Linked DNA regions of Homo sapiens: all the other regions are linked to region 2. Evidence: promoter capture Hi-C in 16 types of primary human blood cells and fetal thymus (Javierre and others, 2016). All regions are on one chromosome and are shown on one strand. The core of a region is centred on a gene start or on the middle of the fragment in contact, and the rest is flanking DNA. Distances in the headings are between cores, read along the strand shown. Region 1 overlaps LOC124904185 (a long non-coding RNA gene). Region 2 holds the start of USP24 (ubiquitin specific peptidase 24). Region 3 overlaps LOC124904185 (a long non-coding RNA gene).

Evidence for each region. Contacts are between HindIII fragments. The CHiCAGO score rates a contact against its expected background, and 5 or more counts as called.
Region 1: a fragment that was not itself captured here is called in contact with the fragment with the promoter of USP24 in region 2 in 4 of 17 cell types (total B cells, naive B cells, M0 macrophages and 1 more); the score reaches 13.9 in total B cells.
Region 3: a contact is called between a fragment that was not itself captured here and the fragment with the promoter of USP24 in region 2, in 1 of 17 cell types (total B cells). The highest score is 7.7, in total B cells.

What each region holds. Positions count from the first base shown.
Region 1 is chr1:56,424,957-56,428,499 of GRCh38, reverse strand. The region is part of intron 1 of LOC124904185 (a long non-coding RNA gene); the gene reads left to right. Among named protein-coding and RNA genes, the nearest start is that of LINC01767, 12 kb to the right of the region's middle. The HindIII fragment of the contact is 4,004 bases long and covers 1-3,543 here.
Region 2 is chr1:55,213,800-55,217,018 of GRCh38, reverse strand. USP24 (ubiquitin specific peptidase 24) reads left to right here and starts at 1,655. Exons shown (of 68, transcript NM_015306.3): 1 at 1,655-2,229. The coding sequence starts at 1,906. It overlaps LOC100507634 (a long non-coding RNA gene), which reads right to left and starts at 1,611. Exons shown (of 1, transcript NR_038320.1): 1 at 1-1,611. RefSeq lists silencers at 1,478-1,987, 2,058-2,247 and an enhancer at 2,708-2,767. The HindIII fragment of the contact is 9,819 bases long and covers 1-3,219 here.
Region 3 is chr1:56,408,281-56,411,410 of GRCh38, reverse strand. It overlaps LOC124904185 (a long non-coding RNA gene), which reads left to right. Exons shown (of 2, transcript XR_007066106.1): 2 at 1-1,244. Among named protein-coding and RNA genes, the nearest start is that of LINC01767, 5.1 kb to the left of the region's middle. The HindIII fragment of the contact is 233 bases long and covers 1,603-1,835 here.

The DNA of each region.
Region 1 (3,543 bases), core at 423-2,922, 1.2 Mb before region 2:
TCCATATCTATTATTTCATACAATTCTCACAACACTACAGAGTGTGCTAGGCTATGATTATTATCCCCATTTTTCAGATGAGGACTCTGAGGATCAGAGAGGCTAAGTGAATCACCTGAGGAAGAGCCAGTCTTTGAAATTGAGGGGTGAGTAGATTAACTACAGGTCTACACCAGACAGTTACACTGTCAGTGTTCTTTATTTCTTACAAAGCCTTTTTTCCTTCTAAGGTCTAGGTTAAGACCTCCAGTGACTCTGCAAAGTAGACCAAGCGTGTATGGCTATCCCCATTTAACAGTTGAATAAGTAGAGCTTTGGAGATATGAATGATGTATCTCAGTTCACAGAGCCAAAAAGTTGTCCTCTTTCCATAACTCCAGAGCATTTTCTACAATCATCCTCAGTTTGAATATCTGGTCTTGTGGTGGGTAGGGCAGATAGGTCATCCCTGTATAAGTCATGTGTCCCAGGGGCAGAGAGAGGCCAAGTGACTTGGTTGAGATGACTGTGCTGACAGCAAAAATAAGAATCTGGGTTTCCTGACTCCCTGTCTGTTGCTCCTCTTTTCTCTTCCAACTTCCACAGCCATAGGTGATATTGGCCTGTGTTACCTCTCATCATATAATCCAAAAGGGAATCATATTTTATTTCTTTCTTTCTGTTTTCTTTTTCTTTTTCTTTTTGAGATGGAGCCTTGCTCTGTTACCCAGGCAGGAGTGCAGTGGCACGATCTCGGCTCACTGCAACCTCTGCTTCCTGAGTTCAAGCCATTCTCCTGCCTCCCGAGTAGCTGGGATTACAGGCACCCACCACCACACCCAACTAATTTTTGTATTTTTAGTAGAGACAGGGTTTTACCATGTTGACCAGGCTGGTCTCAAACTCCCGACCTTGTGATCTGCCTGCCTCGGCCTCCCAGAGTGCTGGGATTACAGGTGTGAGCCACCACACCCAACCACTTTCTTTCATCTCTCTTGGAAATACACCCATCTTATCCATGGTTATGCCCTATTTCCTGGAACATTGTCTGGCTCAATACATATTAGTTGGATGAATGAATGCATCTCTGAATTCCAACCAAATACTTATTGATTGTTAGTCACCTGGCAGGCCTTGGGAGAGGGTGACAGGGGCAAGCTCAGCCATAACAAAAATTTACCTTTAAGTCCCACTGTCCCCACTGGTCTTTGGCCTCATGGGCTTCCTGTGGCATCCTAGGCATGGTTCAGACCTAAGCCACTCTGGCAGCCCCATCTCCAGCCCTGGTGGAGCTTAGAGTAAGCACTGCTCTCCATGTAGCCTAGAGATATATTCATCCACTCTATTTATTCATGTATTTATTCATTCCACTAATTCATTCACTCATGCAATAAACAGCCCTAGTACTGGACCATGGGGATAATGAGACAGAGAGAGTTCCTGCCTGTGAGTTCCCCATAGCTTAGGGTCACAAGTATAAGCAGATATGAAAACAGTTCGATAAATGGCCACTACAGGAGTAAGCACAGGGTGCCATGGGGGTAGGGAGCAGGGGTGCCTAATCCAATCTGGGAGACAAGGAATATTTCATACCCACCTACAGCTGCCATTTATTCACAGCTTTCTATGTGCCAAGTACTCTGCCAAGCCCTTTACATTCATTTCTCCAATTTACTCCTAATAACAACCCTATGAAGAAGGTGCTTGCTATCCTGTCCATTTTACAGATGGGCAAACTGAGACTCAGAAATGGGCAGTGACTTTCCCAAGGTCTTAGAACTTGTATGGGCTAGTGTTGAGATTTAACTCTAATGTCAGGGCTCCTAGCAACTGTTCTGTATGCCCCCTGTGCAGACCACCTCCTATGCTAGTGAGGTTCCATTTCAGTTGCATCTTGAAGGGTAAGTATGAGTCTGCTGGGCAAATTGGCTGCCGTCAGCATGATGGTGGGAGGAATTGTAGAGTGTGACGATATGGTTTGGAGGTTGCAAAAAGGCATCTTAGACAAAAGGAGACAACATGGGCAAAGAAACGGGTTGAAAACAGCATTGTGTCTAGGGCAAACAAATGGAAGATGATTTCTTCTCACCCATCTTAGTAGAGAAATTCTACAGGGGATCTGTAACCCTGACGATCCGTTGCAATCAGAACCTTTGGGTGACTGTTGAGTCTTTAGACATCATACAGGAAAATCTTGGTGGAAAGAAAAATTATAGCTGGCCCTTGTGGATTTTGTAGTTTTGGGCCAGGAAGACTAAAAACAATCTCAATTCTGGTCTCAGGAAGAGGAGTGAGAGTATGGGTCTGCCCAGTGGCTGAGTGGGTAGGTGAACTGGCTGGGTTAGCTGCTGCTGTTGGGGAGGGGGAGTTTCTATTTCTTTCTCTCCCCTTCAGATCTTTCTCCTTGCTTTTCACATACCCATCTTTCTCCTTGCTTTCCACATATACTGACTGAACATTACCTGTGTGTCTAGTTTGGCGCTGTGGTAGATACATGGATAAAGTAGGTCTGACCCCTGCTCTCAAAGTATCTACAGTCTAGGAGGGAAAATGGAATATTTTGATAGATATGCTCATTGATATGCTAATATTGACAGATATGTTAATATCTATGGATATGTTCCATTTCCCCTCCTAGACTGTAGATAATCATCAGAGGGTTGCATCATTTACAAAGTGCATTTAGTTGGATATACATATTTAGGAACCCATGTGTGGCCAGGTGTGGGAAAGCAGAGATAAATGTTGCAGAATCCCTGTTTCCGAGAAGCCGAATTATAGGAGAGGAACTCCTGAAGCAGAGTGTTATGGGGGAAGCATGTGAAAGGCACCGAGGAGCACTGAGGAAGGAGGGGAGGAGTTAGGGAAGCCACAGACATGTTTCATCCTTAAAGCCAGGCCTTTATCCTGCCAGAGACAATCCCATTCATGTTTCATTTTGATGGTCTTTGAAGAAATAAAATTTGGATTGATTATTTCAGAATCCTTCATGACTGTGAAATCCATATGATGAGCTCCATTTTTCCATTGAAGGAACAGAGGCCCAGAGCAGTGAAGTGACTCACTCAAGGTCAAACAGCTGGCACATGGCCAAGCTGGGCTAACCAGGTCTTTTGACTCATGTTCTTTCTGAGACGGCCCACTGCCTCTACAAGGGAGAGAGTGACAAGTGCCTTGTGCCCATGCACCATCTACTTTTAGCTCTTTCCTTGGACCAAGGCCCAGAAAGTGCCCCGTTGTGTCACATCTGTTCAAGCCTGTGGGTGATCTGTGGGCTCTGGCTTAATCCGGTAGAAGGATTTAGTAACATAGGTTGCCTGGCCTCTCAGTGGGAGAGCTGGTTAATCTCCCACAATCCTTGTTGTTCCAGCTCCTTCCCTTAGTTACGCTGATTGGACTGAGGCTTGGAGCCCCATTTTGGGGTCTTTGAAAAGTGAATGGCAGCAGTCACTCTGAAGGTTTCCCTGAAGATGCATTGAGATTCAGGGCTTAAATGGGGCACAGGGTAAAGCTGCCTTGTCCCAGGCAGTGAGGCATACAAAAGTGGGTGGGGTTCTCTGAAGC
Region 2 (3,219 bases), core at 406-2,905:
GCTGGTATTTATAAACACAGGTGGCAAGTTACTAGGTACGAAGGGTTCGTGGTCCAGGGGAAAATATGCCAGCAGAGTGCAGAGACAATGTCTAGGTACCGGCCCTAATTTAATATTTGGTGTATGTAAAGATCTTCGTGAGTGCTGGGCTGGCAACAGCAGGGGTTTGATGGGATGAAAAAGTAAGGTTAGCTGGATTTCAGGTTCAGGAAGAAACCAGGATGAGGACATTAGAAGATGAACTCAGCAAGTATGTAGGAATAGGCATAGGAGATGAACTCAGCAAGAATGAAGGGATATCCGAATCTTGGGAAAGGGTGGGAAAATAACCTAGAGAACTATGGATTGAAGGAAATTGAAGAGGAAAAATAGCAAGGACTTAGGCCCAGGACGGCTTTGAATGCGGCTCAGCACAAATTCGTAAACTTCTTAAAACATGATGAGATTTTTTAAAAGTTTCATCAGCTACCATTAGCGTTAGAATATTTTATATGTGGTCCAAGACAATTTTTCTCCTTCCAATGTAGCCCAGGGAAGCCAAAAGATTGGACACCCTTGGCTTAGATGGTGGAGTCAAGGGAACTAAAGATATGACCCCAGTGTGCCAATGCCAAAGGTGAGAAGAGAAAGCAAAGAAAGCAGGCCTTTAAAGAGGTAGAGGAATCCTCAAAGGTGGAAAGAAACAGGGATAGGATGCTGCCCAAGAGGCAGGGACAAAGAATCGGAGCCAAAGACTGCGGTAAAAATGTGGGAAGGTGATGTCCACGATGTTCGAACGAGTCCGTGGCCGAAGGAAGTAAGAGTCTGGGTTTCTGGAGGTTTTCATACAGAGAACTGGGATTTAGATTTCGGGCTGGAAAAATATATTTTGGACTCTCAGGGGCTTTCAGGGTAAGAGTTCGGTAGAGTTCAGTCAGCTTGGCGGAGACAGGTAGTCAGTTAATGTTGGAAGGAAAATTCGGACAGCTGGGAATTAATTTCAACGGGTTTAGGGTGATTTCGGCAAGGGCTGGCGGGGCTAGGGTCGAGTGTGAATTTCGTCTTGGGTGGTCCACGCGTCTGGTTTGGGCAGGAATTTCTGTGGGCAGCGAGGCGTATTCAGGCAGCGTTGCGGGTGAATCTGCGTGGGATGAGGGTGGATTTCCTTCAGGACTGCGGTGCATTTCAGGCCGGGGTGGAGGTGCCTCACAGCCGCGGCGCAGGGAATTCCCTCTAGGATGGGGGAGCGGGTCGGGCGGCGCCGGCCAGGGAGGGGAAGTCCAACGGGGGTTCGGAGAGGCTCGGGGGACTCGGACGGAGAGAAGCCGGGTCGCGGCTGCGGAGGCTCGGCCGGCCAAGGGATTTCCGCGACGTTCAGCGCTGCGAGCTGCGCGGCGCTGCGGCCCCTCCCGTCCCGGGGGAACCTGTTGCCGGCGAAACAGGCGGGCGGTGGCGACGATGGAGAAGCCTTCCTCGCCTCTGCCTGGCTGCACGGCAGCCCTTTCACCTTAGGCACGCTCCGCGGCGCGGCCCCTCCCTCCGCTCCTTCGTTTAAAACAAACAGAATACGCCGCCGCCAACCCTAGCCTGCCAACGGCGAGCACGGTCGCCTCCCGTGCCGCTTCCGGGAGCCGAGGCGCGGCCCCGCCGCCCGGGGAGGAGGAGGCGGAGGGGGAGGAGGCCAACATGGCGGCGCGCAGGGCTGGGCCGGGCCGCAGCCGCGCCTGAGCGCCTCACCGCACTAGCTCGGCTCGCAGGACCCAAGCCCGCACCCAGCCTGGCCCGGCTGCTGCGGAGCACCCGGGGCAGGAACGCAGGGGCCAACCTGGGCGCGGAGGCGGCGCGGAGGGTGCGCCGCGCGGCCCGCCAGGCCCGGGACCCGTAGCTTCGCCGTGCGCTGGCCGGGGCGGCCAGGAGGCCCAAGCCATGGAATCGGAGGAGGAGCAGCACATGACCACGCTGCTGTGCATGGGCTTCTCAGACCCCGCCACCATCCGCAAGGCCCTGCGCCTGGCCAAGAACGACATTAACGAGGCCGTGGCACTGCTCACCAACGAGCGGCCGGGCCTCGACTACGGCGGCTACGAGCCCATGGACAGCGGCGGTGGCCCCAGCCCCGGGCCCGGCGGGGGCCCGCGGGGCGACGGCGGAGGTGACGGCGGCGGCGGCGGCCCCTCCCGCGGCGGGAGCACCGGAGGCGGGGGCGGCTTCGACCCCCCGCCCGCCTACCACGAGGTGGTGGACGCGGAGGTGAGGAGGGGCAACCCCAGACCTCTGTGGGAAGCCACTGGGCTGGAGTTCCTGGGAGGGGACACACCCCGCTGGGCTTGGTGTGGGGAGAGAGGGCATTCGACTGGGGCTTTAGTGGGGGCGGGGCGGAGAGAGAGAGAGAAGCCCCAGGCTCCAGTTGGGAACCGAAGTCACTTGATTGGGGGTAAGTGGGGAGAGGGACCCATAGGAGAGGCGTGTGAAAGGGAATTAGGGATGCGCAGCGGAGCTGTGGGTTGGGGTGAGGAGGGGTCCCTTAGGCTTCCGGCTATGCACGCCGACGATGGGGAGGAGGCTCCAGGGCTATCATCCGAGATGGGAGGACAGACACTTGAGCATATAGTGGGAAGGATGCGTGCAGTAGGGGGTCGGAAATGGGGTACTAGTGCACTAGGCTAGGTCGGAGATTTTGTGGCACGAGGTTTCAGTGAAGGATTGGCGGAGGCACCAGGCTCAGAGTCAGAAAAAGCGGTGTGGGCCGGCCAGAGTAGTGGTCTTTGACAGGATCACAGGAAAACTGTTGGGGTTAGGAGTGAGGTTGGGGTTTTAGCCAAGGGTCGGAAAGGGGGGGCATTGAGTAGGATTTAAAATGAAGAGGGAAGGGGCCGCGGCCAGGAATGAGGACTTGAATAAAATCAGGTATGAGAGCAGTGGGGATTGCACTGAGAGGGCAGAGGTGGGAGGCCTGGGCAGGGGTGGGAGCTGAGGAGGGTCTAGGCAGGGATGGGGACTGGAATTGGAAGATAGAGCTGGCACCAGGTCTGGGTAAAGAGGGAGTACTGGTCATCGATAAGGTCAGAAATGAGAGAAAATTAGACCGGGGAAAGAGATGGTAGTCATACTGAGGGTGCTATGCAGAGGGGCGCGGAACAGGGTGGGAGCGCAGTGGGGGTGGAGGAGGAGTCTTGAGGCTAATGGCTTTGATCAGAGACCTCAAGTCTAGGTGGAGAAGACTATGCCTGTTTAGTTTGG
Region 3 (3,130 bases), core at 470-2,969, 1.2 Mb before region 2:
TGAGGTTTTGTCTAGCCTATGGTTGGTCTGACTTGAGGGAAAGATGGTCTTCAGTGAGAATCTAAGCTAGAGCTTGGAGTTCAAGAGACTCGGCCTAGCTCTGAGAGATGAGGGACAAGGGCTGGCCAAAGAAAGATTGTCCAGATCCCAAGGCCTCTGGGCTCAGGGTTGGGCTTTAATCTGAACTTTGATCAGTGAGGAAGCTGACATAGCCCCAGGTTTATCCTGGATTATATAGTATAGAGCCATGGTTCTCAGCGTGGCCTGAGGACCCTGGAGGAACCTGAGGTACTTTTAGAGGTTCATGAGATCAGAACTATTTTTATAATGCTACTAAGATGTAATTTTCCCTTTTCATTGGTTGATGTTTAAACTGATGGTGTAAAAGCAACAGTGGTAAACAGCTGGTGCTTTAGTTTGGATCAAGGTAGTGGTAGCAAACTGCAGTAGTTATCATTGTATTATTCACCACCACATGTGCACGGTAGGAAGAAAAAAGTCAGTTTCACTTAATGTCCTTGACGAAGCAATAAAAATGATCAAATTTATTAAACTTCAGCCTTCGAGTGTCTGGCCTGTCTTTTTAATGATTGGTGTGATGAGATAAGAGTATGGGTAAAGCTTTTCTGTTGCCTACAAAAGCACAGTGGTGGTCTCAAGGAAAAGCACCAGAGTGAGTGAGTGAGTTGGGAGCTGAAGTAGCCATTTTCTCCATGGAAAACCATTTTCCTGGAAAGAACGATTGACAGACACACTGCAGTTATTCAGCCATGGGTAGTTGGCAGACACACACCCACACACACACCTACACACACCCACAGACACACGCACACACATCCACCCACACATATATATATTTAAATGATGAAGTCAGAGCTGTTACTTCAAGGAAAACAAATGACAGTATGTACGGCCAATTATAAAATTTGAGAGTTCAAATGAAAAACTGGGATTTTGGAAAACTTGTATCCTTCACTGTGAGCTGGTTTCAGATTCCACATGGCAGTGACCCTTTAAAAATCCACCACTTGTCAAGTTTTGGTGTACTATCAAAGAGGAATGTCCACAGTTATCTGAATAGATTATTAAAATACTTCTCCCTTATTCAACTTCATGATGTGTGAGGCCAGGTTTCTTCATATCCTTTAATCAAATAACACATGACAATAGGCTGAATGCAAAATATATGTGAATCTGCTTTGTATGTTAATAAGTCAGACATTAAAGATGTTGCAAACCTGAAACAATGGCATTCTTCTTACTAATTTTGCTATGGATTTTTTTTCATTAAAATTTATTATTTAGATTAACATGTAACAGATTTATTACTGTTATTTTAAGGGAATCGATAAATGTTTTTAAAAGTTCTCTAATTTCTGACTTGATAAATATTACTAGACATGACCCACATAAACAAAACCTCTTTAGAATCCTGTCATTTTTAAGAGTGTAAAGGAGGCTCAGTTCAAATCTTGGTTCTGCCATTTACCAACTGTGCTATCCTGGGCAAGTTACTTAACTGCTCTGTGCCTCAATTCCTTTATCAATCAAATAGAGATAATTTTAACCTATCTCATATAGATAAGTTGTAATAATTAAGCTTAACATATATAAAGTGCTTAGAACAGCTCCTGGTATATAACAAGTGTTATATAAAGATTCTAATGATAATAGTTACTATAACACAGCATTGTAGTGCTGTGTTATAATAGCTATTGGTTATGGTCTGTGTTCCAGTCTGTTTTCCCCACCTGAGGCCTTGGGGCAGGCTGTGTGGCTCCCCCAAGATCAGGGTCTGCTGTCTCTGATTGATCTCTGAGTCCTAGCACAAAGCTTGGCACCCATTAGGTAGTCATAAAGTTTGGTGAGGAAATGAATGAGTAGTTGGGGGAAGGCAGGACAAATTCCAGACATTCCTGATAGGCAACGAAGTTCCCCTATGAAGAGGCTAAAATCCTAAGTGGTAAGAGTGAGACTGTAAGTGGAGGTGGAGGCACAAACGGGAACTGGATTGAGGTGGGAGCAGGTAGAGTGAGAGTCTCAAACATGTGCAGTAACTGACGGAATAGCCCCTTATGACATACAGTCTGATGCCTGGTGGGGAGGTGTGCCAGGCTGAATGAAGACACCAGGTGAGACCGGCCCCACCTGCTGATGGGGCTGGGTAACACAGCCTGCTTTATTCCACCTGGATGGCCTCCGAACCTTCAAGACACCTTGGTTAATAACGGGAATCTCTGCATCTGCCGCCGCACTGCATGGGGCTGGGGAGATCAGAGAGAAAAGAGTTAGGCTGAAGCACTAAATACTAGTCTCTCATAATTTCCGGATCTACATTTTACATGACTTGGCGTGTTTGACCATGTTGTAATTGTAAATGGTTACCTCAGTTATTTTTGGACATCCAGGAAGAAAGGGGAAAAATGTAGCTCAGTACCTACCCTGCGTCAAGCACTTGATTAATGCTTTCACATGTAAACCTCAAGACCACCTCATGAGGAAAGTGCCCTTATACCCATATTGGATATGAAGAAACTGAAGCTCAGGGGATGTAAGTAATGTCTCTGTGGTCACACTGCTAATTGGTGGTCTAGCTGGGATTGGAACCCAAGTCTGTGTGAATACCATGTCCCTACCCTTTAAAAAAGCAAATTTTATTTTATTTTCTATTACACAAGTAAGGCATATTATCTAAAATTGAGAAAATACTGATAAGTAAAAAAATAAAAATTATCCATAAATTCTGCCATTCAGATATAAGAGCTACAATCACATTGGTATGTCTTTCCAGACTTTTTTTCCGCATGTATATATTTGTAACCAGCTTTTCTGCTTAACGATATATCATAAATGTCTTTCTGCATCTATAAACGTATTTCTGTATCATTTAAAAAGACTGCATAGTATTTCATTTTATGAATGAACTGTTTATTTAACTGATCTTCCGTTGCTAAATATTTAGGTTATATCTAGCTTTTTACTAATATTAAAAATGCTGCAGTAAGCATCCTTGTAGTTTAATCTGTGTGTGTATTTTTACTTCCTTGGGATAAATTCCTAGAAGTGAGATTGATGATTAAAAGCGCATTTTGGTTTCAAAGACATATACTATATTGCCAACTTGCCCCAC